Linked DNA regions of Homo sapiens: region 2 is linked to region 1. The links are contacts of gene promoters, found by promoter capture Hi-C in blood cells and fetal thymus (Javierre and others, 2016). All regions are on one chromosome and are shown on one strand. Each heading gives the region's core, a stretch centred on a gene start or on the middle of the fragment in contact. The rest is flanking DNA. Distances are from core to core; before and after follow the strand shown. Region 1 holds the start of NCOA6 (nuclear receptor coactivator 6). Region 2 holds the start of TRPC4AP (transient receptor potential cation channel subfamily C member 4 associated protein).

Region 1 (4,146 bases), core at 701-3,200:
TTTTTTTTTTTTCTTTAGACAGTGTCTTGCTCTGTCGCCCAGGCAGGAATGTCATGGAATGACCATAGCATGGCTCATTGCAGCCTTGACCTCCCAGGCTCAAGCGATCCTCCCACCTCAGCCTCCTGAGTAGCTGGGACTACAAGTACAAGCCACATCAGGTGGCTAATTTTTTTTATTTCTTTTGTAGAGATGGGGTCTGCCAGCTCCTGGGCTCAAGAAATCCTCCCACCTTGGCCTCCCAAAGTGTTGGGATTACAGGCGTGAGCCACTGTGGCTGGCCGGAGCACCTCTTAAAACTCTAGAAAGTTAGAAGGTCTCAAAGATAACTTCTTTGCACAATTAGAGATGAACCAGGAAATACCAAATAACTGGCTGCCTATACTTTTTTGTATTCCCTTCAGCCTTTGTATTGCCACACTCATTACAGGAAGAAAACAAATTTAATAGTTATCTGGTATATACTGTTATGCTTCATTTCTTGTTGTTTTTGTTTGTTTGCTTTTAGTTTCATCACAAGAATGTTATGCTTCATTTCTTAACACCTTTCTCCCAGCTAGCAAATTCCTTTAAGGCAATGTGTTTAGTGAGGAAGCAGCCGACAATTTCTAGTACCCCTCTGCCACTAACTTGTAAGATCTTGAAAAGTCAACTTTACCTTTCTATGTTTCAGCTAAAATCACTACCTGATTTGAAATCTTTACTTGATCTCTCAGGCCTTTGTAGTTTTTATACATTCACTCTTCTTCACCATTTTACTGGCTTCAATAACGCCTTTCTGATGACCTCTCCAGGTGACTCTGCTCTTAAGCTGTGGGCTGTCCCCTTCCAGGGAAGACACCTTGGGTCACCGCCCCCAAACAGCCAGGTCCCTCCTTTTAAAGACACACACAACTCCCTAAGTTGATAAAGGTTCTCTCCTTCCTTGCCAACCAGTTCCACTCTCTGTGCCTCTTTTGCTGGCCAGCTCCTGCACCCAAACCTCAGTCTCCCTTTGTCCCCCTTTTCTCTCATCAAACACCTCCTTTTTCCTGTTGCTTCCCCCAAGAGGGGGTGGAGGATGCTTGGGACATAAGTCTTCAGAGCCTTGGGAGTTATACAGCTTTGCAATTCAGCCCCAGTACCCCAAGGACTGCCCCAATCTGAACCAGCGTCTGTACCCAAAGGGCCCTCATTCCTCATCAATCACCTCCTTCCCTCCCAGCAAAGAACTGCTCCAGCCCTGACAGCCTGAGCTTGGCCCCCATGCCTCCACCCCAATCCCCAGGTCCTACCTGCATTAGGGCTCTAACACCGCCTAAGGCCTAACCCAGTTCCACGTCCTGCCATCCTCTCAGCCCATAGACCCCAATCCCGGTTCCCTTCGGACCCAGTGTTCCTTCTCCGCGACCCTGACCACGACCCCACGACCGGCTCCCGCCTGTTCCCCAGGCCTGGAGCGCCACCCCGTGCAGACCCCGGCCAGCCCTGCACTCCCTCAGTGCACCGGCCCCCGCGCCCAGCACCCTCCCCACCCAGCCCGGCCGCCGCTCCCTCCAGCGCCCCCGCCCGCAGGCCTGGGGCCCGCTCCCCAACATGGCGACGGGGACACAAGCGCGGCGGGCGGGGCGGCTCCGGGCCGGGCCCGCTCTCAGACCGTGCCACTCGGTCGCCCGGCGCCATTTTTCCGCGCGGGCCCGGGCGGCGCCTCCTCCCCGCGAAGCCAGCCCGACAAGGACCGCGGACGCCCGGCGGGCCCACCCCTTACGGGCCCGCGCCGCCGTCCCCTCACCTGAGCGCGGCCCCGGCCCTCCCGGGCGGGCCTTGGAGCGCCGGCCCGGGCCGTGCGTGCCCGCCGCCCTCGGTGCGTCCGTCCGTCAGTCCTCGCGTGCGCCCGTCTGTCCCGCCGCCCGCGCCCGGCCGCCCGCAGCCCGACCCGGCAGGGCCTCACGGAGCCGGCGGGGAGGGGGATGGGCCGGACCGGGCCGGGGAGGGAGGGGGAGGGAGGGAGAGAGGGAGGGAGCGCGAGAGGGGGCGGGGCGGACTCGAGGGGCGGGGCATTGCCCACGTGACCAGACGTCCCCGGGAGCGCGAGGTGGAGCGCGCGCCAGCTCCCTTCGGTGCTGAGTGCTTAGTGCTGGGATCTCGTGGGTCTCTGTCGGCTTTCCAGGGCTATTCTCTCGCCAGTGAGTCCCACTTCGGAAGCACACATTGCACAGTCTTTTGCGAGCGCTCTGAGTATCCTTGGACATGGCAACTCCAAGCCTCAGTTTACCCATCTGAAATATGGGGAAAATCATAGTGCTTGTGAAGAGCAAATGGAGGTGGGCTTGGAAAGCACTTGTCACCGTGCCTGACACATACTGTCTAATAATAAGCTTAATGGGATATAGATAAAAGCTTTCATTATTATTTGCCTCTAAATCCCTCTCTTCTTTTTCCCATCATTACCTCCCTAGCAAGCTAAAATGCTCAGTAAATAGAATTATTGATCGAACGAGTGTGGCCCCTCCCCTCTTCCCAAACGTAGAAAGGCCTCCTCAGCACTGGACTTCATGTCTGTCATACAGGCCTGGATTCATATCTGGCTTTCACTCTTTTTTAAAAATTTTCTGTTTTTTCCCACACTACACTGATGTATTTTTTAAATTTTCGTAAGTACGTAGTAGGTGAATATATTTATGGGGTACATGAGATTTTGATACAGGCATGCGATGTGTAATCACATCATGGTAAATGGGGTATCTAGCAACTCAAGCATTTATCCTTTGTGTTACAAATAACCCAATTATACTCTAGTTATTTTAAAATGTACAAGTAAATTTTGTGTGTGTGTGGTTTTTTTTTTGTTTTTTGTTTTATTTTTGTTTTTTTGAGACGGAGTCTCACTCCGTCGCCCAGGCTGGAGTGCAGTGGCGCGATCTCAGCTCACTGCAACTTCCGCCTCCCTGGTTCAAGGGATTCGCCTGCCTCAGCCTCCTGAGTAGCTGGTACTACAGGCGCATGCCACCACGCCCAGCTAATTTTTGTATATTTTTTAAGTAGAGATGGGGTTTCACCATATTGGCCGGGCTGGTCAGGAACTCCTGACCTCATGATCCGCCCGCCTCTGCCCCTCAAAGTGCTGGGATTATAGGCGTGAGCCACCGCGCCCGGCCAATTGTTTTTTACTGTAGTCACCTTCTTGTGCTAGCAAATACTAGGTCTTATTCTTTCTAACTATTCTTTTGTACCCGTTAATCATTCCCACTTCCCACCTACCTCCCCATTAATCTTACCAGCCTCTGGTAACCCTCCTTCTATTCTCTATCTCCATGAGTTCAATTGTTTTAATTTTTCGCTCCTGGCCCGGCATGGTGGCTCACGCCTGTAATCCTAGCACTTTGGGAGGCCAAGATGGGCGGATCACCTGAGGTCAGGAGTTCAAGACCAGCCTGGCCAACATGGTGAAACCCTGTCTCTACTAAAATACAAAAGCTAGGTGGGCATGATGGCGGGTGCCTGTAATCCCAGCTACTCAGGAGGCTGAGACGGGAGAATCTCTTGAACCTGGGAGATGGTGGTTGCGGTGAGCCTAGCTCGCGCCACTGCACTCCAGCCTAGGTGGCTGAGTGAGACTCCGTCTCAAAAAAAAATAAAAAATAGTTAATTTTTTGCTCCCACAAATAAGTGAGAACATGTGAAGTTTGTCTTTCTGTGCCCGGCTTCTTTCACATAACATAATGACCTCCAGTTCCATCCATATTGTTGCAAATGACACGATCTCACTCTTTTTTAATGGCGGAATAGTATTCCATTGTGTATATGTACATTTTATTTATCCATTCATCTGTTGATGGACACTTAGGTTGCTTCCAAATCTTGGCTGTTGTGAACAGGGATGCAGTAAACATGAGAGTGCAGATCTCTTCCATACACTGATTTCCTTTCTTTCCGGTGTATACCTAAGAATGGGATTGCTGGATTGTATGGCAGCTCTCTTTGGCTTTCGCTCTTGATAGCTGTCCTTGCCTCTCTGAACTTGAGCATCTTCATCTGTAAAATGGGAGTTGGGGTCTGTTCTGAGCATCCCAGGAGATAGAGGATGAGCAGGTGGATTGTAAACTAATTAAACAAATCAGTCCTACTGATCCCATAGAAGAAAGGGAGTCAGGAACCCTTTCATTC
Region 2 (4,117 bases), core at 329-2,828, 270 kb after region 1:
ATCTGCCTGCCTCGGCCTCCCAAAGTGCTGGGATTACAGGGTCTTAAGTCAGGTCTTAAGAACACAAGGGGGAAAAAGGCTGCTCATCTATGGTTGTGTGATGGCCAGGAAAACATTTCTCACTCACAACTGCTCCTTTCGTCCACAGTCCTCCATACACACAGACCCCCTAGCCTTTATTTTATTCTATCCTTTTCGTCATTTGAGGAAGTGATATTCAAATTAAATTTAAATAAAGTTACACTGTGAAAAGTCTCACTCCCATTTTCTCCCCCTTTAGCCCAATTCCCACCTCACTCCCACCAACCACTTTATCAGTTTCTTGAGTATCCTTCAAACTTTTTATGAAAAAGCTGTCTTTAAATAAAGCTAATGTTTTACAGGTGTTAGCAAGGTTCGGGGTGGGGGAGGGTGGAAGAAGTAGTGGACTAGGTCCTATTCAACCTGGTTTACCCTAAAGCAGTGTCCTTCGCTCACTCAAAAATAACAATAATCATATGTTGGGCACCTGTTATAAGTCAGATGCTTAATATTAACTACCTTCAGCCCTTAGTATGCACCAGAAATGCACTAATGCTTTACACAATTGCCCCCTTTGATCTCCACAACAATCTTAAAAGGTAGGTTACTAATTCTCATCTTCATCTTACAAGTGAGGAAACTGAGGCACAGAAAGGTCACCTGCCCAAGCAAGAGAGAGGAGCAGGGCTTTGAACCCAGGCCTGACTCCAGAGTCCCTCTTAACCGTGACGCTCTACACTAGCAAACCAGATATAGTCTCTGCACCCGCTGGAACTCAGCCTAATGTGGGAGACGGGCGAGAAAAAGGCAGACAACAAAGAAATACGAAATTATAGACTAAGAAAGTAATGTAAACGAAACGAATTCGCGGCTGTGACAGAATAACAATGGGGACCTACTTTAGAAAGGGGAAGGAAAGAGTGTCAAGGAAAGGCCTGAGAAAATGACATTTATGAAATGCTCGGGAACCATTTGGGGGCTGCAATGATGACCCCCTCCCCCACGCCCAATACACGGGATAAACTCGAGGCCCACAGAGGCTAAAACAAACACGACAGGGTCCCCCAGACGTGTAGACGTGGCGCAAAGAAGGGAGGATCCAGAAACTGGGCCCAGGGTTCGTACACGCCATCAGTGTCCACAGCAGCCCAGCCCCGCTCGGCCCCTGACAAGGGACATCAAGCCAGCTGCTTCCCACGGCCCCGCTGCAGCTGAGAGCGTCCGGGCAGCTCACAGGGAGGCCTTCCGGCCAGCCAAAAGGGCTTTGGCCCGTCCAGCGGCGGCCTGGAAAGGCCTCTTCCCCGGCCCCCCGCCAGCTCCCGCCTGGTCCGCCCCGCCCCGCCCCTCCTGGTCCAGCCTCGTACCTGCACCGCCCGGACCAGGCCCCGGCCGGTCAGCTGGCCCTGCCGCAGCTGCAGCAGAATGTTACCAGGCCGCGGCCGGCCGCCCCATCCGCCCCAAGCCGCCACTGTGGCTGCCGACCGTCTCCCTCGGCCGGCTCCAGACCCAGCCGCTACCGGCGCCGCCGCCATGTCTCCTCGTCGGACAAACAGGAAGCAAGCGGCCTCGGGGCCGCGGAGATTTCTACGGGGCGGCGGAGGGGTCGCCGCAGCGCCCCCAGTGGGCCGTCGGCGGAGGCGCAAGCCGCGTGGCAGGGACCGTGTGCGGCGTGGAGGCTACTGGGAATTGTAGTCCTGCGCGGCAGCGGGGTAGGTGGGAAAAGAGATGTGGCCTTTCCTGCACTGCCGGTTTCTCTGGCCCCCGGGCCCAGCATTTCGGCGAAATCTCCCAAGGTCCACATTCTCCCATTTCTCTCGCCGATTTGGGCAGGATGCAGGCAGCTGGCCAAGAAATGATCCTGGGCTTCAGGTCAGGAGTCAGGCCCTCGAGTCCGCTTCCTGCCTGCTTCTCTCTACACGTGACTCACCGCGGACATCGACCAAGTCATCGCGCTCTGCCACTGCGCCTGTGTCCTCGTCAGGTCACTCCATCTATAGATTCTGGGAGCCTGATCAATCGTAGTTCCTGGGGCTTTCTCTGCGCCCGACACCAAACCATGTCTAGGGGAAAGGGAGGGTGTCTGGGATACAGTGGTGAGCAGAACGGCCTGGGATCCTTTATCACGAAATGCAGGTTACAGGGGAAGACAGCAGATCCATACACAAAGAAACGCAGTCTCAAACTGGATAAGTTGTGTAACTGGGTAGGTTGTTGTGAAATTAAATAATGGAAGGGAAAGGGATTAGTAAATTGTGACATCATATTCTCTGTCAGATGAAAACCCTGTCCTAATTTCTATCCACCAGATAGCATGTTGTCTCTAATACTCATTTTTTCAGCTAACTTCTGTGGCAGGATGGCACTGACTCCCCCCACCCAACACACACACACTTTTTCCCTTCCTAGCAGGGGGCCTGTAATAAAAATGAAAGAGGAGAGCTAAGTGTGATGTAACAGGGAATGGTGAAGATTGTGACTCATAACTAAGATGACTGTAACTTACTGCTCAAACCAGAACACTTTAAAGAATGAAAAGACACAATAAATAATTACACCGGGACGGTAGGCATAAAAGTGACTCTCCCAGGTGAACTGGCACTATGGTTACCATCCTCACACCCCATCTAAAAGGAGTAGACTCACCATCCATCTTCATAGAACTAGAAAAAAGAATCCTAAAAATCATATGGAACCAAAAAAGAGCCTGCATGTCCAAAGCAAGACTAAGCAAAAAGAATAAATCTGGAGGCATCACATTACCTGACTTCAATCTATACAATAAGGCCATAGTCACCCAAACAGCATGGTACTGGTATAAAAATAGGCACATAGACCAATGGAACAGAATAGAGAACACAGTATAAAACCAAATACTTATAGCCAACTGATCTTCGATAAAGCAAACAAAAACATAAAGTGGGGAAAGGACACCCTATTCAACAGCTGGTGATAACTGGCAAGCCACATGCAGAAGAATGAAACTGGATCCTCATCTCTCACATTATACAAAAATAAACTCAGCCGGGTGCAGTGGCTCACACCTGTAATCCCAGTGGCTCACACCTGTAATCCCAGCACTTTGGGAGGCCGAGGTAGTCAGATCATGAGGTCAGGAGTTCGAGACCAGCCTGGCCAACATGGTGAAACCCCATCTCTACTAAAAATGCAAAAATTAGCTGGGCGTGGTGGCATGCACCTGTAGTCCCAGCTACTTGGGAGGCTGAGGCAGGAGAATCACTTGAACCCTGGAGACAGAGGTCACAGTGAGCCGAGATCACGCCACTGCACTCCAGTTTGATGACAGGATGAGACTCCATCTCAGAAAAAAAAAAAAAAATAGCCAAAGAAGTTACAGTCAGGAGATATTTTGTTCCCTATAGAAACTGAATATAACATCTTAAAATTTGTCCCTGAGTGTTGTTTCTTAGAAACTCGAACCCCCACCAAATGGATCTGCTGATAGGCAAACTCAGATAAGGGAGAGCTGAGAACTAAACTTTGACTTCTATTTTTTGTTATAAATTTCTTCCTAGGGGGCCTGGAGGAGGACACGACCATAAGTCAGAGCTAACATTCTTTTCTGCAGATCCCAAATTTTTAGACAAAGCTTTACCTCCTTAACCAATTACAAGTCAGAAAATCTTTGAATCCACTTGTGGGCCCCTGGTTGGAGATGTCCTGTCTTTTTAGGTGGAACCAATATACAGCCCCTATGTATTGATTTATGACTTCGCCTGTGGCCTCTGCCCTCCTGCCATTAAAAACCTGTAAGCCGGCTGGGCGCGGTGGCTCACACCTATAATCCCAGCACTTTGGGTGGCCGAGGCAGGTGGATCACCTGAGGTCAGGAGTTCGAGACCAGCCTGACCAAAACGGCAAAACCCCGTCTCTACTAAAGATACAAAAATTAGCCAGGCATGGTGGCACGTGCCTGTAATCCCAGCTACTCGGGAAGCTGAGGCAGGAGAATCGCTTGAACCCAGGAGGCAGAGGTTGCAGTGAGCTGAGATTGCACCACTGCACTCCAGCCTGGGCGACAGAGCAAGACTCTGTCTCAAAAAAATAAAATAAAACCCCTGTAAGCCATAAGGGAGTT

What was found. Contacts are between HindIII fragments. The CHiCAGO score rates a contact against its expected background, and 5 or more counts as called.
Region 2: the fragment with the promoter of TRPC4AP here is called in contact with the fragment with the promoter of NCOA6 in region 1 in 1 of 17 cell types (fetal thymus); the score reaches 5.5 in fetal thymus.

The regions. Positions count from the first base shown.
Region 1 is chr20:34,823,701-34,827,846 of GRCh38, forward strand. It overlaps NCOA6 (nuclear receptor coactivator 6), which reads right to left and starts at 1,951. Exons shown (of 15, transcript NM_014071.5): 1 at 1,772-1,951. RefSeq lists silencers at 1,418-1,857, 1,868-2,057. The HindIII fragment of the contact is 10,135 bases long and covers 1-2,355 here.
Region 2 is chr20:35,091,229-35,095,345 of GRCh38, forward strand. TRPC4AP (transient receptor potential cation channel subfamily C member 4 associated protein) reads right to left here and starts at 1,579. Exons shown (of 19, transcript NM_015638.3): 1 at 1,386-1,579. The coding sequence starts at 1,553. RefSeq lists a silencer at 1,351-1,480. The HindIII fragment of the contact is 3,956 bases long and covers 1-3,626 here.